Linked DNA regions of Homo sapiens: all the other regions are linked to region 4. Evidence: promoter capture Hi-C in 16 types of primary human blood cells and fetal thymus (Javierre and others, 2016). All regions are on one chromosome and are shown on one strand. Each heading gives the region's core, a stretch centred on a gene start or on the middle of the fragment in contact. The rest is flanking DNA. Distances are from core to core; before and after follow the strand shown.

What was found. Contacts are between HindIII fragments. The CHiCAGO score rates a contact against its expected background, and 5 or more counts as called.
Region 1: a fragment that was not itself captured here is called in contact with the fragment with the promoter of JMJD1C-AS1 in region 4 in 1 of 17 cell types (endothelial precursors); the score reaches 6.1 in endothelial precursors.
Region 2: a contact is called between a fragment that was not itself captured here and the fragment with the promoter of JMJD1C-AS1 in region 4, in 10 of 17 cell types (M2 macrophages, endothelial precursors, M0 macrophages and 7 more). The highest score is 8.6, in M2 macrophages.
Region 3: a contact is called between a fragment that was not itself captured here and the fragment with the promoter of JMJD1C-AS1 in region 4, in 1 of 17 cell types (neutrophils). The highest score is 7.0, in neutrophils.
Region 5: a fragment that was not itself captured here is called in contact with the fragment with the promoter of JMJD1C-AS1 in region 4 in 5 of 17 cell types (endothelial precursors, monocytes, M1 macrophages and 2 more); the score reaches 10.8 in endothelial precursors.
Region 6: a contact is called between a fragment that was not itself captured here and the fragment with the promoter of JMJD1C-AS1 in region 4, in 17 of 17 cell types (endothelial precursors, activated CD4 T cells, erythroblasts and 14 more). The highest score is 20.9, in endothelial precursors.
Region 7: a contact is called between a fragment that was not itself captured here and the fragment with the promoter of JMJD1C-AS1 in region 4, in 1 of 17 cell types (endothelial precursors). The highest score is 5.1, in endothelial precursors.

Annotation. Positions count from the first base shown.
Region 1 is chr10:63,770,410-63,773,491 of GRCh38, forward strand. No RefSeq gene overlaps it. Among named protein-coding and RNA genes, the nearest start is that of REEP3, 250 kb to the left of the region's middle. The HindIII fragment of the contact is 3,195 bases long and covers 1-2,951 here.
Region 2 is chr10:63,185,468-63,188,230 of GRCh38, forward strand. JMJD1C (jumonji domain containing 1C) reads right to left here. Exons shown (of 26, transcript NM_032776.3): 19 at 748-916; 20 at 96-186. Among named protein-coding and RNA genes, the nearest start is that of NRBF2, 54 kb to the left of the region's middle. The HindIII fragment of the contact is 1,776 bases long and covers 503-2,278 here.
Region 3 is chr10:63,151,214-63,153,913 of GRCh38, forward strand. It overlaps NRBF2 (nuclear receptor binding factor 2), which reads left to right. Exons shown (of 4, transcript NM_030759.5): 3 at 937-977; 4 at 2,298-2,700. Among named protein-coding and RNA genes, the nearest start is that of NRBF2, 19 kb to the left of the region's middle. The HindIII fragment of the contact is 5,670 bases long and covers 1-2,700 here.
Region 4 is chr10:63,463,901-63,466,964 of GRCh38, forward strand. JMJD1C-AS1 (JMJD1C antisense RNA 1) reads left to right here and starts at 1,329. Exons shown (of 1, transcript NR_027182.1): 1 at 1,329-2,663. It overlaps JMJD1C (jumonji domain containing 1C), which reads right to left and starts at 2,077. Exons shown (of 26, transcript NM_032776.3): 1 at 1,595-2,077. The coding sequence starts at 1,762. RefSeq lists silencers at 1,190-1,529, 2,070-2,219 and enhancers at 1,309-2,098, 1,720-1,789, 1,870-2,039, 2,490-2,539. The HindIII fragment of the contact is 1,793 bases long and covers 520-2,312 here.
Region 5 is chr10:63,721,177-63,723,936 of GRCh38, forward strand. No RefSeq gene overlaps it. Among named protein-coding and RNA genes, the nearest start is that of REEP3, 200 kb to the left of the region's middle. The HindIII fragment of the contact is 324 bases long and covers 1,338-1,661 here.
Region 6 is chr10:63,204,839-63,207,573 of GRCh38, forward strand. JMJD1C (jumonji domain containing 1C) reads right to left here. Exons shown (of 26, transcript NM_032776.3): 10 at 1,757-2,735. Among named protein-coding and RNA genes, the nearest start is that of NRBF2, 73 kb to the left of the region's middle. RefSeq lists a silencer at 1,537-1,737. The HindIII fragment of the contact is 1,756 bases long and covers 461-2,216 here.
Region 7 is chr10:63,749,682-63,752,381 of GRCh38, forward strand. No RefSeq gene overlaps it. Among named protein-coding and RNA genes, the nearest start is that of REEP3, 230 kb to the left of the region's middle. The HindIII fragment of the contact is 2,591 bases long and covers 45-2,635 here.

The DNA.
Region 1 (3,082 bases), core at 104-2,603, 310 kb after region 4:
GATCCATTTGGTGGTTTCAGTTGAACACTGAAGGTTCCCTGGGATATTGGCCCTTACTGTAGGTCTATGATTTTATGGTATTTCGAAGCCTTGCCTTCATTTTCAATGTTAATTCTGCCCAATGTCTGATAGCTTTGGGCCTCCACCTCTGGCTTCTCTGTTCTCTTCCAGCTCTTCAGCGTCTGACGTTCACAACCCAAACGCCCAGCTGGTGAATCTATTCACTCCTGACTTCTTCTAGTCTTCCTTTCTTGTGTGAGACTTCTGTACTTACAGGTTCTACAGGCTGGATTTTTGGCGCCCCCTTCATAACCTGTTGAAACTCCTTCTTCCTGCTGCCTACCTGTGAGGCACACATCTGATCTGCCTGGAGAAGAAACTCTGGGGCAGAATTTTTCGCAAGAGCGACTAGTGGGATCTTGGGTAGACTTGGCTTTAGACTGAATTGACTCTTTCTAGTGTGTTTGAGGGCAAGTGAGCCTGTGTGCTCAATTATATCGTCTTTACTTTAAAATCCACTTCCTGTCATCAGTTCCTCAGGCTGTTTAATCTCCTGGTCACTCATCAGCACTTGAGCTATTCTTCTCTCTATCTTTATCTCTTCCCACAGTTCAAAGCAGAATGTTCTAGGAGGTGGGCTCACTTTGATAATTCTCCTTCTTCTCCTACCCATCAGAGAGCCTTCCTCCTCCAGATGAGCCTTTCCTGTCTTGGGTTGAGGAAAGATTGTTTTAATTTATCGGTCTTCATTCTTGTTTTTCTATTCCCCTCTAGTCTATAATGGCTTCTTCTCTAAGGTATCATTTTTTCCTGGTGTCTGGGATTCCATGGTAGGTGAAGGCTGAACAGCTGAGAGGCTGGCCCCACTTCTAGAGGCCCTGTTCCCTGAGGCAGGCTCAGCTTTCCCCTCTAGCCAGATACCTATGTTGGCATCCCTCTGGGAGGATACCAGTGACCCCTAATATTGTATGTTTTTGGGTCAGAGTTTACATATGTCCTGCTCTGCCCTGACCTTAGTAGGGGCTGAAGGAAGTTAGAACTTACTTCTATTTCTCAGGTTATCAGGTCCTTTTTTAATAGGCTTGTCAGAGGGAATAGAGCACTGTCTTTATGCCTCTCCAGTAGTACCACTTTTCACTCTGCTCTGGGGTGTAATCATTTTTTTTTTTTTTTTTTTGGTTAGATTGGGTCTCTCTCTGTTGCCCCAGCTGGAGTGCAGTGGCGTGATCATGGCTCACTACTCACTGCAGTCTTGAACTCCTGGCCTCAAGCAATCCTCCCATCTCAGCCTTCTGAGTAGCTGGGACTACAGCAGTATGCCACCACACCTGGCTAATTTAAAATTTTTTTAGAGACAGGGTCTTGCCGTGTTGCTCAGGCTGATCTCAAACTCTCGGCCTCAAGTGATCCTTCCACCTCAGCCTCCTAAAACCCTGGGATTATAGGCTCATGCTTGGCCTGGGGTGTGATCATTGTGAGCTTTATAGATCCCCTACAGTGCCTAGAATAGTTGCCAAGAGATGTTGCTTGATATGTGTTTGTTGAATAAATGAATGAATCAAATCAGTGGGATTCATTTTGACCCTTGGGTTCCACTTTGGTTCAGGCCCTGATTGGTCCAAATATTGTTTTTCCAAATATCTAGCTTTGCAGTCTTCATTATTTAAAATGTTATAAGAATATATATTTAAGAAATATCATGTAAAATATTGATGCTGGTATAGTGGAGACCCATTAAAACCTGGGGTCTTTCTATTTTTAAAATTCTGCAAAACATAAGTCTCATCTGTACTGAGAGAATTCCAGCTAAAACATGGCAGGTCTATGAGGCACATGTCAGTCCAGGACTGTGCTAACAATCCAGCCAGGATTTGTGGTTGGTTGTGTCAGTAGAAAGATGTCAACTGTGGAGTTTGATGTTGCTCTACATACTAACAGCAAATTAATGTTATTAAAATGTTTGGTTACTAAATACAAAAAAGACTTCCTTGCATAGACTGACTGTACACTGAGAGCCAGAGCTTTCTTTCTTGACTTAGACCTTAAAAAGATTATTTTAATTTGTAGGACTTCTTTCTTGCCTTAGACCTTAAAAAGATTATTTTAATTTGTAGGACTTCTTTCTTGCCTTTCTACTCCTCTCAATTCTTTTTTCAAGCTGTTGTTGATGCAATCTAGATTTTCCCAAATGGGACAACTTGAAACAGAAGTGAATTCATTCTTAAATGAATGTATGAGGAGAGAGAACAGCTCAGGAATGTATTTTGGTGATTAGCCATCAAGCCAGGAGAAAGGGTGGCAGTTGGCTGGAACTCACCCGTATCCAGTCTGCATTCATTTTGCATCCTTCTTTATACATATGTCACTCTCCTCTTTTAATGGAGAAAAAACCCAAGTAAACATTGTTAAGCACATTTTGGAAAAGGGTTTAGTCTTAAAATAATATTGTGCACAGTATGCATGCAAGAGAATTTGAAATTTTTGGAAGTGAAATTAGACAGGCTCAAATCCTTTGTGGACTGAAGTGATGTGTAGAAATAAGTGTAACAGAGATCAGAGTATCTCTAACTATCCTAGAGTGTGGGACATAAGAGAGAATAACCTTGGAGGGATTGAATGAATGTCATTTATGAGAAGTTTATGAAACTTTGCACCTTTTAATTTGGGAACTGACGTTTTGGAAAAGAGAAGCAAAAAGATGTCATCAAAAGAAAAGACAGAACAAAATGTGACTTATAGTATGTTAAAGAGACCTCAGTGGTTATTTTGTCCAATCTTTTTATTTCACACAAAGGAAACTGGTGTTCAGGGAGGTTGAGTGACTTGCCCAAGGTCACCCAGACACTTAATGGCATATCCTGGAATTGAATCTAATTTCCTCTTTAATAAACCAGTATTCCTGTGGTGTTATGACTCCTGTGGTCCCTGTTTACCTAATGTGGAGCACGTGAAGCTTTTGAGAGAATGCAAAATGCTCCAATTGAGCACACAGAGACCTATGGAGCAATTTAAAATCCCATGACCCTGCTTTGTAATTGTGGAGTTTGCAGCTCATTTTATTTAATGTATGCTAGTCTCTAGT
Region 2 (2,763 bases), core at 141-2,640, 280 kb before region 4:
GCCTACAGGTCACATTTACGGTTACTTATCCTATCTCTGGGGACAGTCTTAGCTCGATCTCAAAAAGTCAAGAGTCAAAATGAAAAGTTTCAAACCTTGCTGGCATCATAGTCTTGAAGTCTTCTCCTGAAGGCCAGTCTTTCAATTTTAAAACAACTGTTTCTCCACTCTTGTTTTTCTGCCGTTCTATAAGGAATGCAGTTAATTACTAAAAGGGTAATTTCTGCCTTTTTATCTTTATTAACATTTGGAAAGAAACGTAAATGAATGAATGATTTGATTGTTGCACATTACATGCTTAATGATTGCTTGCTTATTGACTTATTACTTATGTACTTATGTAGTATTAAAACCTTTGTTCCTTTTGTACATGAATAGAATTCATTAAATTACCCACTTGTAATATCTCAAAAGTTGTTTTTAAAAATCTTGGTAACATCACAATCTTACATCTACACTTTTAATTTTCAAAGAGTTTTACATAAATAATTCCATTTTCAAAAGCTTATGGAACTGCCAAACATTTCTCCATAAGCAAAACAGTATAAACGGCATCTTTAAGGTCAAAGGAAATTAGTGCTAGAAATAGGGATTAGGACCCAGTATTTTGTTTCCAATTACTTGTTTCTTTTTATTAGACAACATAAAACAGATGTTTCAAAGACTAAAAATCTGTTAAGTTACATTTGGAATTTATCATTTTGAAGGAGTATGATGGAGAAAATAGTAAAATAAAAACCAACATACTTGAAACTTCTTCAAAACCATCCCAGAATTCCTTAACATTGGCATTTGAAATGATGCTATCTTTGCAGTTCAGGAGATCAGCTTGGTGGTCTCCAAAATCAAGACTAATTGATTCCGCCTTCCATAGGCTAATGTTCATTTTCTTATGCACACCAGAAACCACTGCAGGCTTATAAATAGATAAATAAATAACAGTTAAAAGATATATAGACTTTCTTTTTTGTTTGTTTGTTTGTTTGTTTGAGACAGAGTCTTGCTCTCTTACCCAGGCTGGAGAGCAGTGGCCTCATCATACCTGACTGTCACCCTTTGGGCTCAATCAATCCTTCTACCTCAGCCTCTTCAGTAGCTGAAACTATTAAATTTCGAGCCTAATGAGTTATTCTCTGAAAGTGAATGTCTCCTTTGAAATTACATAAATTCAAATTCCCTCACAGCTTTCTTACACTTGGTGGCGGAGGGTAGATGTCCTCTCCACCCAAATTCCCTAATAGCTTTCTAATAACGCAGAAACCAGTAATGGAAGATTTACAGCTTCTAAAACTACAATAAATGATATAAAAACATATCTAAGAACATCTGATGTATTATTCTCAGGTTTTAAACAAATTCCTGTACTCTAATGAAGCAGAATTCTGGAATATAGAGAACACAGTAAGCTATGACTTAAAAGTTTCTGAAAAATGATATTTACTAGGCTGGGTGTAGCAATGCATTCTTGTAGTCCCAGCTCCCAAGGCTGAGCTGGGAGGATTGCTTGAGCCCGAGTTTGTATCTTGCCTAGGAGACACAGCAAAACCCTGTCTCCAGAAACAAACAAACAAAAAATTTAAGTGATTATTAGTATTCTTAAACTTGTAACATAATTAAAATATAGGAACCACAAAAGAATAATCTCTAGCTAGATTTTTTTTTTAATTACAAAAGACATCTTTAAAAAGAAAAAACACCCTAAATTCTGGTTTACTACATGGTTGAATGTTCCATTAAACATTTTTTCAATGAGCCAATAATATATACGACTTTAAAAATAGGTCCAGGTATTAGTTAACTCTTGCTGGCAATTCACAGATTAATTCCTAGTGCCTAGTATCTATCCAATAATATTGCTGCTATTAGGGTAATCAGCAGCTTGTTAAAAGTAAATTTTTTAAAAAAGATAAGGGTTAAGCTAATTAGTGTATCAGAATAATTCAAAGCAGAAATCTTAGGCTATCACCATGATCTTTTTACTTTTTTTGGAGACAGGGTTTCACTTTGTTGCCCAGGCTGAAGTGCAGTGGCATGATCATGGCTCACCACAGCCTGGACTTACTGGGCTAAAGCAATCTTCCTGCCTCAGCCTCCCAAGTAGCTGGGACTACTGGTGTGAACCACCACGTCTGGCTAATTAAAATTTTTTGGTAGAAACAGGGTCTCACTATGTTGCCCAGGCTGGTCTCCAACTCCTGGGCTGAAGCGATCAATCGTCCCACCTTGGCCTCCCAAAATGTTGGGATTATAGGCAAGAGCCACAGCACCAGGCCTGTAAAGCTTTCTGATTAGACTCCTTGCCAATGGTATTATTCTCTTCTAACTCAACTTCTAATCTGCCTTGCTGTCAGTTATTATAAAATGTCAATTTGATTATACAGATTCCACAATTAAAACTATCACCTAGAGTATAATGTTAAAACTCCTTAGCATGATATATAAGGGCATTTCATGATCATTCCTCTAGCCATCTCCTTACACCACTCTCCCCCATGAACCATCATGTATATTGCAGATAATCACACCTACTCAGAGAGTTCCCAAAACACCTAATGTTCTTGTATATGTCCAGCCTCTTGTCCACCTAGCAAAAAACTTCACTTAACCTCTAAGGAATCAATTTAGACTAGCCTTTTTGAACTAGTATCCTAGCTTTGACATTTCCTTTTCTGGGTTCTCATAGCACCTTGAACAAAGTTCTTAAAACACTTCACATAATTATGAAAACAATTATTTGTGTGACGCTTTTCTACCTCAAAAGCT
Region 3 (2,700 bases), core at 150-2,649, 310 kb before region 4:
GGCAAAAGAGGAACTTAATGTAGGTATGAGAGATGCCAAAAATGTTTATAACAAGCAAGATAAAAATGGAGATTCATTATGGACAATTCATTGATAATAGAGAACTTATTTATACCTAACCTTGTTCCCGAAAGGTTATAAAATGTCTTACAGATGAATGTACAATAAAATATCGAATGTAATTAAAGATACATAGATAAGGACATCCATAGAGAAAATGAGAAAGGACTAGTAGTGTAGTTCACAAAATGTACCATTAGTTCTTGCATATTTTTTTAAGAACTTGACTTAAGTTTTCTAGCAGTCATCCTAAAGAGGAAAGATAATAATTTTTACATTGGCTATTAAAATTCAAACAAATAGTCACCGAGGATCTAAGATCAGAGAGAAGTTTATTGAAGGTCTTCATAAATGACATTATACTGTCCTCAGTAACTTCCTCGCAGTAAATATGTCAACAAGTTCTTAGGGCTTTTAACCATAAGGCTGATGGTTTAACTCAGAGACAATTCATTAAAAGTGATTCTATAGGAGTCCAAAATGATAGATTCCAGGTATTCAGACGGATAAAAAGTCATTGATAATCTCATGATATTTTTGTGAGTATGATGAGTAATAGGGTTTGGATAGGTTCTTGTTTGATTTTTATCTTTCCTAAACCTATTTTTCTGATTAGACCATCTTCAGTTTCTGAATTATAAAATCTGTAGGAGTTTTAAATAACAAAACCTTCAAGATAGGGTAGGGAATATTTTCATTTTATTGCCACTGACATCCTTTTGGGGGAAGTTAAGAATTCTTTTAAAAAATCCCCAATTGTATCAGAGTTATCAGACCAGTTCTCTTTGTCATATGAAGATTATTAAAACTCTTCCTTTTACCTGTTAATTACAAAATGAAGACACATATTAACATGCCTATTTTTTCTCTTAACAGCATATCTTTCTGAAGCCATGAAGCTGACACAGTCAGAGCAGGTGAGACATATTCCCAATATTTGCGACAAGGGTTAGAAAGGTTTTCTTGTGGAGGCTTGAATTGTGTGTAAAGCAAAGCATTGTGTCCCTCTCAAAATGCTATAGTCAAAAATATATAAAATGGGCAAGGGAAGAGCACTTCACAACGGAAATTAAAACTAAATGAACTGCAGTCGATGCCCCAGACATGGAATGCAGAAACTTCTTTTTTTCTAGTGGTTACTCACAGATCTCAGATTGCCAGCCAGATGTACCTTTTAGAGAGCCCTCTTCGGACCATTCCTAATCATTAGCTCTTATTTGATCATTAGCTTACAGTCAGTAAACAGGCCTGGCCAAGAGGAAACTAGTTGGACCACCCTTTGCTTGTCAAAGATAATTTAAATCTGACCAGTCTCCCACTTGTCTTTGCTTGAATTCTTAAGCAGTTCAGGCACTTTTAAATTTGTTTCACCAATTGCTTTAAATTGTCTTCTGTGTTTGGGGAGGCCCTGCCAAGTGTTTCAAGATACATTTATTCATAAGACTGGGCATGGTGGCCCATGCCTGTAATCCCAGCACTTTGGGAGGCCAAGGCAGGGGGATCACTTGAGCCCAGGAGTTCGAGACCAGCCTTGGCAACACAGTGAGACCCCATCTCTACAAAAACTTAAAAAATTAGCTGGGCGTGGTGGCACATGCCTGTAGTTCTAGCTACTTGGGAGGTTGAGGTGAGAGGATCACTGAACACCTGAGTCCAAGGCTGCAGTGAGCTATGACTGCGCCATTGCACTTCAGCCTCAGCAACAGGGACCCTGTCTCTAAAATAAATATATATAAAATATCTTTTTAAAAACTTTTTGTTATAAAAGTATTAGTTAAAGAGATCATTTCTGTGAGGTATATCAGTGGCAGGGAAAGCCACTAGTTTCTCAAACTGAACCAAGGGAACTTTAAAGTTGTGTTCTATCCCTTTCACTGCCTTTGAAAGTATAGAATCTGCTCATGATACAGGCATGCATTGAGTTATCCAAACACGCGGTTGATAGGAAGACTTTCTTTTTAGCTGTTGGTAGAATTAATATGTCTACAGAGGAAAGATTTCTAATTTTGAGTACAAATGACATTACACATGGGGTCAGGCACATTGAGGAAAACATCCAATTTAGTGTATTGATTGGGAATAGGACTTCTGACTTTCTGAATGGTATTTTTGCAAACATAGTAAATTGTAAATTGTAAGTGTTGGGTTATTCACAAAGGATTTTGAATAGTGTATGTTGGACATTACTAAGATACTTAAAATATTCTTCCAATTTTATCTTTCCTTCTATGTAATAGGCTCATCTTTCACTGGAATTGCAAAGGGATAGCCATATGAAACAGCTCCTCCTCATCCAAGAGAGATGGAAAAGGGCCCAGCGTGAAGAAAGATTGAAAGCCCAGCAGAACACAGACAAGGATGCAGCTGCCCATCTTCAGACATCTCACAAACCCTCTGCAGAGGATGCAGAGGGCCAGAGTCCCCTTTCTCAGAAGTACAGCCCTTCCACAGAGAAATGCCTGCCTGAGATTCAGGGGATCTTTGACAGGGATCCAGACACACTACTTTATTTACTTCAGCAAAAGAGTGAGCCAGCAGAGCCATGTATTGGAAGCAAAGCCCCAAAAGATGATAAAACAATTATAGAGGAGCAGGCAACCAAAATTGCAGATTTGAAGAGGCATGTGGAATTCCTTGTGG
Region 4 (3,064 bases), core at 79-2,578:
CCTTACTAACATATGCAAACTTAACTCTTTAATCACTTAAATTCCCAACTAAGAGAGCAATTAAGTTATTTATATATACAAATTTTTTTTTTCCTTTTTTACAGATGAGGGGGTCTCACCTATGTTGCCCAGGCTGGACTCTTAATAAGTCCTGGGCTCTAGCAATCCTCTTACCTCAGCCTTTTACACAAACAAAAATAGTTACTGAATTGAACTGCCATAATTTTTAGAACCACTAACATCACCAATACTTTTTAAGGAAGATTATACATTTCTATACGAAAATAACCAGCCAAAACCTTCAAAACTACCTCTATTTTCTGTTAGAAATACCTATCAGCAAAACACACCTATTTTGCGATATCGAGTCAATATTAATACATGCCGCATTAACCATATCATTGACTACAGTGAGGAAAACCCGAGTTTACAAAAACACACTCAGAAACTATTAAAATAGGTAGGTAAAAAATATTAGGTAGATACCTGTACAAATATTACAATGAATTTGGAATTGTAAGCTTTCATGCACACAAAGGGAAAAAAATTTCCTAAATTTGAAGTTTTCATTGAAAAAGTAAATGGCTCAGGGCATTACAAATAAATTTCACAGATTACGTATTCATAAATCAACCTTTGGAAGTCTAGTCCATGTCTTGTCTCTACTCCGCCCCTTACCTTCAAGCTGTCCCTCAGTGAGAATGTACTTGGAACACAACAGAGCATATTACAGCTCAATATCATGCACATACCTACGCTACTCAAAGAAAGCACTGGCAGCGTCACATGTAAGAAACCAAAAAAAAAAAAAGATAATCAATTCTGCATGGCATTTAACATTTTAATTGACAACATTTTTCGTCTTATTTAAAATCGTATAAAACCCAGAAACAGCTTGACTCCAAAGAACTATACCTTTCTAACAAGAAAAGCACATTGGGGACAGAAAGAGAGATTACCCTCCATACCAAAATTTTTCACTTTTATCCTTTACGGTTAGAAAGCCAAGCATCTATTAAGGAGAGGATGAATCCGGGCACAGCCACCACCACGGCCTCTGCCTCTAAAACACATAGGAATCCCCGGACTGTGTGGGAAGGTCTCTTTTCTTTTCTCCCTCCCCTTCAGCAACCTTACAGGATAAGTTTTAAGTCTCGAGCTACAGCACTATGAAGACTTTTCCAAGAAAAGAGATACCAGGGAAGCTGGCCGCCTGTCGCCATGAGTGGTCCGCCCCCTACCCCCACCTGCCCGCGCGGCGCCGGACTCGCGGCTCCGCCTTTCGGGGAGGTCTCCGTGGCCGCCCAGGCGCCACAGCGGGGAGCCGCGGTCGACCCCTCCGGGATGGGGGCCAGGGCAGCCTCCGCGGCTATCCCGGGAGTCCTGCTCCGACACCACCTCCACAGGGGAAGCCGCTCGGAGAGACGCAGGGACCCAGGCAAGGGATGCGGGCAAACGCGCCAAGGGTTCAGCAGAGGGGCGTGACCGCCAGTTGGCCGGGCTGAGCGAGGCGCCAGAGGGAAGCCTGCAAGGTACGTCTGCGAGAGCCGGGTGCGGGCGCGGCAGGGGAAAAGGGGGGCGCTGACTCTCTTACCGCCAGGTCCGGATTGCGGCTGTCCCTGTGTGACACGGCTCGGATGACCCCCGCTCGCCAGCTTCGCCAGCCGCGTCCGCTCTCCCAGCGCTCCGAACGTGCCTCGTCGCCGACCGCCACACACAGGAACCGCTTACCCACCAGCTCTGCCCGCGTCTCTACCGCCATAGCTGTCGCTGCCGAAGCGGCCGCTGCCTCCTCCAGTGCGAGGGAACCGATGAAACCTCACTCCTACCGGCCGCTCATGCTGAGGAGAGCGGACCGGGACACAGCAGCGGACCCGAAAGAGCGCAGACTCGGGACGAACCGGCCGCTCTGCCCCGGACACAGCGACCTCGGGCCCTCCCCGCAAACACTCCTTTGGACTCCCAGATTCGCAGCCTTGTGCTGCAGCGCCACACAAGAAAACTGAAACAAAACCCAACGCGGCCGTCGAAGACCCCGAGGCAGCCCAGCCGCCGCCACCGCGCCGCGGCCAGTACTGCTCCGTCTCCCTCCCCGGGCAGCGGCGGCGCGCAGCGCGTCTCCTTCCGCCGGCGCGGGCGGGGCAGCAGCCGCGGGAGGGTCGGCGGAACCACCGCAGACGGAAAGTAGTGCCCGGCCCTGCGGAGGCGGCAGCGGCCACTGGGTCCGTCCAGATCCAGAGGCGGCGGCGGCGGCGGCAGCGGGAGACGAAAAAATGAAGAGGGCCGCGGGAAAGTAGGCGACAGCTATTCAAAGCTTTTGGGGGTCTACCTTTGTATTCGTTGCTCCCTCAGAGGTGGAGGTGAGGGGAAAGTGAAGTGTAGTGGTTCCACTCTGATCACAAAATAAACTCCTGGGTTGACGCCTCACCCGCGGTTTGATGTTCAGAGCACACAGCGCCCGCCGCCTGAGTTAGCCTGAATTAGCAGTCCCGCAGTAACAGCAGCAGAGCAGGACAACACTTCTACTGAAAACTAAGCCCCAAAGTCACAGCAGAACCAACCGTTCATGACTTCAAGGGAAAACGAGGGGGAAAATGTGATCCTTTCATTCTTCTCATTTGTGGTGATACTAATTACATGTTTAAGCTATTCACAGATTTAAATTCGTCACTGCTTTATTATAAGAACAGCAAATGCTCCGTGGCGGGCCCTTGTCAACGTCCTGAAATTTCACAAACCGTGTCTGCGACAGTCTTAGTACTTTTAGTACTGGTACACAGCTCAAACACACTGGTCAGATAATAAAAGCAGAGAAAATCCCCAGATTCAGTTATTAGAAAATACCATGGAAAGAAAAGGATTTTAGCCAATCACAATTCAAGAAAAAAAATATTTATTTCCCATCCAATTACAATCGGACTCCCTAACCCACACAAAGATCTCTAACTTGGAACAATCACTCTTCTTTGATCAACTTATTTGTTATAAATCAAACCTCCCTACAAATGTCAGTGAGCAGTTCGATTTCAGGCACCCTTTATACTGCTTTTTTATAGGTAGTCCA
Region 5 (2,760 bases), core at 250-2,749, 260 kb after region 4:
TGGGAAACAACTTTTTCTCCCTTGGTTGCTTTCAACCATACTATGCTAAATCTCCCTTCTGTGCTCTGTAACTTCAATCTCTGGTAGATTTCATAGCTTTTGGCTCACATTCAGCTGTAACAAGAGTCCTTGTTTGTTTGTTTCTTATTTTTAATACATGGTTTCTTATTTTTAATACATGGTTTCACTCTGTTGCCTCACTGCAGCCTTAACCTCCTGGGCTCAAGTGATCCTCAATCTCAGTCTCCGGAGCAACTGGGACTACAGGAATATGCACCATACCTGGCTAATTGTGTGTGTGTGTGTGTGTGTGTGTGTGTGTGTGTGTGTGTGTGTGTGTATTTGGTACACATGAGGTCCCACTATGTTGCCCAGGCTGGTCTTGAATTCCTGGGCTCCTGCCTGGGCCTCCCAAAGTGCTGAGATTGCAGGCATGAGCCACTGTGCCTAGCCCCTGTTTTCAGGTATTAAAAATGTTAGTCTGGGCTGGGCATGGTGGGTCACGCCTGTAACTCCACTACTTTGGGAGGCTGAGTGGGAGGATCACTTGAGGCCAGGAGTTTGAGACCAGCCTGAGCAACCTAGCAAGACCCTGTCTGTATTAAAAAAAAAAATTAGCTGGGTGTGATGGTGCATGCCTATAGTCCCAGCTACTTAGGAGGCTGAGGTGGGAGGATCACTTGAGCTCAGGAGATTGAGGTTACAATGAGCTATGAGTGCACCACTGTCCTCCAGCCTGGGTGACAGAGTGAGACCCTGTATTAAAAAAACAAAACAAAACAACGCCCTCCCCAGCCAAAAAAAAACTTAGTCCAATCTCATATATAGCTTGAATCTTCTCTCCTTAACTCTTCTTACTTCTGACTCTGAGGAAGGAGAGCATGACTGTTCTTTCAGTGTTTTTCTGACTATTTCTCATCTCTTTCCTGCTTTCTAATTCCTCTAGTATAGAATCCAGCATGCAGATCAGAGAAAGAGGAGCAAAGTGTCACTGTACTTAGCTGGTATTGTATGTGATTCTCTCATGGATAATACTGGCTGGGACTCATTCCCTCTGTTAATCTGAGAATTCACATAGAGCTTCTCCAGGGCACCCTGTGGGGATGCAGGGGGTTCCTCCTATTCTGGTCATTCTCCAGTTGCTTCTGAAAATCTTCTCTCAGCTTTTGCCCCACATGTTCTGGGCTTCACTCTACACAGCTTCTTCCTGCTGGGGACCCCTGGCTTCAGGCAGTAGTTCTTTTGGTCAGGGTCTGTTCCAGATGATGCATGTCTTGCTACTCTCTTCAGGTTCCCTTGGTCAATGGGAAAACACTGTCCATCCTTTTCCTCCCTAAAGCTTAACCATCTAATCAGCCCTCTCTCCCACCCTGTAATTGCATGCTGCTCCAGCCAGTCTCTTGCCTTCAGCGTTCTTGAGATGGATGGAAACCAGGCAAAGATGCCAGCAAATGCCTGTGGATGCTCTTTGGCTCTCCTAAGAACACTTGTTGTTCTCTATGGTCTGGAAGCAGCACCAGGGCCTGTGATGTCAGGGCTCTGTAAACATCCAGCCAGGAAGTGAGATACAAATCTTTCTCGTAGGCATTTCTGGTCCCTGTGACTGATTTGCTTGGACTCCTTCACTTGGCTTAGCAGTAGGGAGGGAGGGAAAAAGCCAAAGCTTTTCTAGTTCTAAAAATGCCTTTCAAAGCACCTCATAGGCCGGGCAGAGAGACGCACGCCTGGAATCCCAGCACTTTGGGAGGCCAAGGTGGGTGGATCACCGGAGATCAGGAGTTTGAGACCAGCCTGGCCAACATGGTGAAACCCTGTGTCTACTAAAAATAAAAAATTAGCCAGGTGTGGAGGTAGGCACCTGTAATCCCAGCTACTCGGGAGGCTGAGGCAGGAGAATCACTTGAACCCAGGAGGCGGAGGTTGCAGTGAGCCAAGATCGTGCCACTGCACTCTAGCCTGGGCAACAGAGCGAGACTGTGTCTCAAAAACAACAAAAAACAAAAAACAAAGCACCCCATAATGAATGTATAGCCTTCTCTTAAATTGGCTGAAGGTAATTAATGAAGTTTTATTTATTTATTTTTATTTATTTATTATTGCCTGTCTTTTGGCATTTTCTCCACATCCTCACCAACACTTGTTATTTTCTGTGTTTCGTTTTGAAGTTTGGTATTTTAAGGATGAGCTTGGGCATTTTAAAATAAAATTCTGCAGAAATGTACCTAGTGGGTCTCTTTGGCTTCAGGGTCTTAGCTGAATTTCAAAGATAATAAGAGAAGGCCATTCTCTCTGTTCTTAATCATGTTAGGATACAAGAAGATAGCCGTCTGCAAACCAGGATGCAGGCTGTCATCAGACACCAGATCTGCCAGCACCTTAGTTTTAGACTTCTCAGCCTTCAGAATAACTGTCTATAAGGGAACACTTGAATTCATCGGAGAAGAGATGATAAGTGCCAGAAGTAATTGAGGAGAGGGTTCGAGGCAGCTTGCTCAGCTGAGAGCTGACTGAGAGCTGAGAGGTTTCTGGCCTTGGGGAAACAGTGAGAGAGAAATCCCCAGAGCTCCAAAATGGGTTTTTACGATCTTGGCTATGGGAGGAACCCCTGACCCACTGGGGCCTCATGCCTGACATACGGAGCTGCCTAAAGATTGCACAGGAATCTTGCTCCAGAAAGGGAACCCACACAGAATCCCACGGGCATCTGAGCCTGGAGCAGTCTCAGCTGGGAGCCACTTTGAGAGCCCAGATACCAGGGAT
Region 6 (2,735 bases), core at 89-2,588, 260 kb before region 4:
CTTTGCCTCTGGTTTCCACACAGGCATGTGGGAAAACCTCATTCAGTTAAAAGGCACAAATGGGAGCCTTCAAGCATCCAAGTGCTTGTGAAAGTACTTTGAGTGTCCACATTGTCACAGATATTTCATATATTGTATGTGGATGAACACACGGACATAGTGAAACTAAGTGCTTTCTGCATTGTGCAACATACCTAAAAAGAAATAAGCAAACTGAGAAAAACTACTACTAGAGTAAAATGATATAGAAACACTTTATAGTGAATATTACTGTTAAGTATCTCTTATTTTGTCCAGCTGTTGCCACAAAGGATATATAATCAGTTGTGAAGCTATTAATATGGCAATTCTTTAACATCGAAATGAATACACAAAACCACAAGCCTCCCCTTATGTTAATTTTTACCTATTGTTAAGGACTGTTTGAATGAGCAGCATTAAATAGATAGTAATTTCCATAAGCTTCCAATTTTGTCACCAGATGATATAAGAGTGAAATACAGTCCACATTCATATTACTCTGAAGTAAAATTGGCCCTCCATAACCGTGGGTTCCAAACCCATGGGTTCAACCTACCATGGATCAAAAATACTTGGGGGAAAAAATATTCTACAAAGTTCCAAAAAAACAAAACTTTAATTTGCCATGTGCAGAGTACTATGTTCAATCCTGCATAAATGAAGTGATGTGTAAGCGTTGTGTTGGGCATTATAAGGAATCTAGAAATGATTTAAAGTATATGGGAGGATGTGTGTAGGTTACATGCAAATATAGTCATACACTATTAGGCAATTTCCTCACTGTAGGAACTTCATAGCATGTACTTACACAAACCTAGCTTACAAACCCGTACAGTATTTACTGTACTTTATACTGTAGATAATTGTAACACAAAGTATTTACGTATCTGAACAAAGAAAGAGGTATAGTAAAAACACAGTCTTACGATCTTATATGAGACCACTGTCATATATACATTCCATCATTTTTTGTTTATTTTTTGAGACATGGTCTTGCTCTGTTGCCCAGGCTGGAGTGCGGTGGTGCAATCATGGCTCACTGCAGCTTCAACCACGCCAGCTCAAGTGATCCTCCTGCCTCAGCTTCCCAAAGTGCTGGGATTACAGGAGTGAGCCACTGTGCCCAGCTGTGCATTCTGTCACTGACTGAAAAGTTGTTATGCAGCACATGACTGTACTATGCTATTTTATATAAGGGATGTGCACATCTGTGAATTTTGGTATCCGTGGGGGCGTCCTGGAACCAATCCCCCACAGGTATACCCAGGGACAACTGTAACTATCTTCTAGAAATTTGCCTCAAAATATGTGTATGTGAGCAGAATTTCTTTCCTGACTACATCTTGTTAGAGGTAAATATCTTAGCTGATATTACAAATCCACTTTTGGTGTGACAGCCATAACTGCATTTTGACAATTCTTAGAAATGGCCAAAATTACGAGTAACTACTAAATTCCACGTTAAATTACGCAAATTACCTACAATGACTGTCAGGTAAGATATATATTTCTACAAGTCTTTTAAAAATAGAGGAATAAGTGTTCTCTCATTTCCTCTTAAAGGGTACTTACTTGTGAAATGTAGAAATGAGATCAATGAGCATATACATAAAGCTAAGGCACGCAAATGAAGACAAAGGATGCCTTTAAGCTCACTGATCTTTAAAGCAGCACACTAGTATAGCTAAAACATTCAGCCCATTTTACCTGAGATAAAACAAAGTAACTGACTTACTATTACTGTTGCTTTGCAACTTCAGTTTACTTCTTTCTTTGGCACTCCTGCTGAGAACTCCATTGGGTTTCAAATCTTCTTCTATTTCACCTTTTCTCTTTTGCAAATCATTTTGCTTCTTTTTGTAAGTTGGCTTAGGTTGTCTTTTAGTCCTTTGCTCTGACTTGCTTTCACTTTCATCTGAGTCTCCACTTTCAGAGCCAGATTCATAAGTTCTTTTGGCTTTTCTCCTGTTGACTTTATCATCTTTTACATATTTATCAACTATGATCTTACTATCTACACTATTTTGTATATCACTAGATGTAGAGGCTATTAAGTTGACAGAACATGGCTTAATAATTTCTGATACAGAATTCCCTGAATTTTCCATTTTATTAGTATTTTTATCTTCTTCTGAGTGTCTGGTGAGCCAGGCCTTTTTCAGTTTAGTATGGTAGTTTGGTTGACTTGTCTGGGAAGCTTGCCCATTTCCTACAGAGTTTGCTTTGTTAATTGTACTACAGATTACAGTGCTATCCAGAGGAAGGGAGGCTGAAAGTGTCTGATTTTTTATAGCATTAGGTTCAGTCTCACTGGCATTACTACTTTTATACTGAGCTGCAGCCAATGCTGCCTTGTGCTTTTTTAAATGGATAAAATCAGTTGTGCCTGAGAACCCAGAACTGGGTTGAACAACACTTCCTGTCTTACTACTGGCTAATGTAACTGGTGCTGTGGTGCTGACCTTGCATTCTTGTTTTTGAGCCACTGGCTGACTGACACTTTTTGAAGATACACATTCTGATGATGTAGAGGCCAAAATGGTATTTGATAAAGAGGAAATTACTTCTGAACCACCCCAGCTGGAAACACTGGTAGTATCGGCAGCAGATGTGATTACATCCGTTTTGGTATTACACATCGTATTTACAGCAGACATGACTGAACTGGGAACACTGCCCTGTGAGACAGCCTGAAAGTTTTTTTCAGATTTTGT
Region 7 (2,700 bases), core at 90-2,589, 290 kb after region 4:
AATATTATTTAAGTGCTTTGCAATAGTTTTGCTTGTTCATTTAAAGCTTCCTCTGATATTTTTCTTATGTTCTCACAACACCAATAGCCTAGGGCTCTACTTAAAGCAGGTGCTACAAATATTGACATCAAAAATTAGTTAAATTTAAGAAAATCAGCCTGGATGTGGTAGCTGATGCCTGTAATCCCAGAACTTTGGGAGGCCAAGGAGGGAGGATTGCCTGATCCCAGGAGTTCAGGACCAGCCTGGGCAATATCTCAAAAAAAGAAAGAAAAATTAAAAATTTCCACAAGCAGTTATATGGGAGGCAGGAACTGTAGCAGCCGCCAGGTTGTACCAAGTGCTGAAACTGATAGGGCAGAGTTGTAAGGCAGTTTCAAGCTCTCAATTTAGTGCTTCTTCACAGCCCTATTCTTTTAAGTATTTGTCCAAGATCTCTTCAGTAGGGGAAAGATTAAACACTCTTTGTGGGAGAGGCAGAGCCACCCACTCAGACTCTTGTCTGTTATCAAGAGTACTTCCACTCTGGCCTCAAACTTGTTCAACTTTCCCAACAAATCAAATTTAGACGTGAACTAGACTTGCTCTGCTTAACAGGCAGTTTAGTGACCACTTGCTTCTACCTTTACACACTCACATGGAATCTTACTAGTCCATTTTCACACTGCTATAAAGATATACCCAAGACTAGGTAATTTATAAAGGAAATAGATTTAATTGACTCACAATTCTGTCTAGGTGGGGAGGCCTCAGGAAACTTACAATCATGGCAGAAGGGGAAGTTGGCACATCTTACATGGTGGCAGGTGAGAGAGAGGAGCAAAGGAGGAACTTCCAAATGCTTATAAAACCATCAGATCTTGTGAGAACTCACTATCATAAGAACAGCATGGGGGAAACTGCCCCCATGATCCAATTACCTGCCTCCCTTGACATGTGGGGATTATAATTCGAGATGAGATTTGGGTGGGGACACACAGCCAAACCATATCAATCTCCAAGTGACTTACTAATGTATTCCTTCCCACCACAAGACATGCTCTTCATGCAAGGAATTTCAGTAAACACAGCCCTATTCTCTTATCTGGTTACATTTCTTGTGATATCTTAGTGCTCACCTCCCTCCTAACCCCACTCAGTTTGTAGAAATCAGGTTGCTAGTAGGTTTTGACAAAAGGAGAATAAAAGTCTTATCCCCTTGGGGAGGGCAATGCAGAGAGTCTGTCTCAGATTTGGTCCCCTGGTCTGGCCTATGGAGAGAGGGATGGCAAGCAGAGATGAAGGTGTTTCAGAAGGCGCTCTGTGAGATATGTGATAAACTGCCATTTGGATGTTAATGAGGGACACTGGGTGGAGTGAGAGAGGCCTTTCCCCATCTGTGTCATTCTCTCTGTGGCTTCAGTGTTTGACAACTTGGAGGGTGGGCAACAAATGTGCCACTTTCAGGGGAAAGGACTGACAGTGGGCTTCAGAGGTGTGGCAAGGTGTCTTTGTGCAATTTTGCAGGTGAAGAAGACTCGGCCAATAAGCCTTACCCAGGAGTTTGTCCAGTGGCAATGCAACAAGGTAGCACGGCCTAGAAACTATTGGGGTGGAGGGTGTGTGGATATTAGGAACACGGGGCTTTGGTGTCAGGTGCTCTACCGCTTACTAAAACCCTTGGACTATTTCTTCATCTAGAAAACAGAGATAATGGGCCGGGCACGGTGGCTCACACCTGTAATCCCAGCACTTTGGGAGGCCGAGGCCGGTGGATCACTTGAGGTCAGGAGTTCGAGACCAGCCTGGCCAACATGGTGAAACTCCGTCTCTACTAAAAACACAAAAAATTACCTGGGCGTGGTGGCAGGCACCTGTAATCCCAGCTACTCCGGAGGCCAAGGCAGGAGAGTTGCTTGAACCTGGGAGGCAGAGGTTGCAGTGAGCTGAGATGGTGCCATTGCACTCCAGCCTGGGCAACAACAAGAGTGAAACTCCAACTCAAAAAAAAAAAAAAAAAAGAAAGAAAATAGATATAATGATAATACCTATGTAGGACAGTTGAAAAGATTAAGTAAGATAATACATGTAAAGCATGTGGCAAGTGATATTAAAATATCAGAAAGCAACATGGGTCAGTAACATATGACATATTCCTGGCAATGTGACCCCACTGGAATCTATAAAGAGTGGCCTGGCATTTAGACACATGAGTCACATATGTTTCCATGTGCCTTGAGTTGCCATGAAATTAAGTGATTTTTTTTTTTGTCCCTTAAAAACCACATCCTTTTAATAGAAAACTACAGCAAATACCATGCAATATGTGAAAAGGACCACTTATTTATTATCACTACATGTCAGAAACCATCTGGACCATTTTCTTGCAGCAGATGTTTGCCAAATTAACTTTGGAAACAGAATTCATGTAGGGTATTTCTGTTAGCACAATGAATGTAAGTAGGACAAATGCAGATACATTTTTCAAAACAATATTAAGCCTTATTACAGTCAGGTAAAAAAACCATGGTGACTGCACACATTCTTATAATTTGCTCAGAGAGCTCAGGAAGTGTCAATAAACTATCTCTTAATTTAAAAGAGATTAATTTAGAAATGATATGAAATGCAAAAGATTTAAAACCTTGACCATGAAAGCTTAAAAACATTTAATTCATATTGTTCATGGTAATGAGGCAGGAGAATGGGGAATTAGGGTAG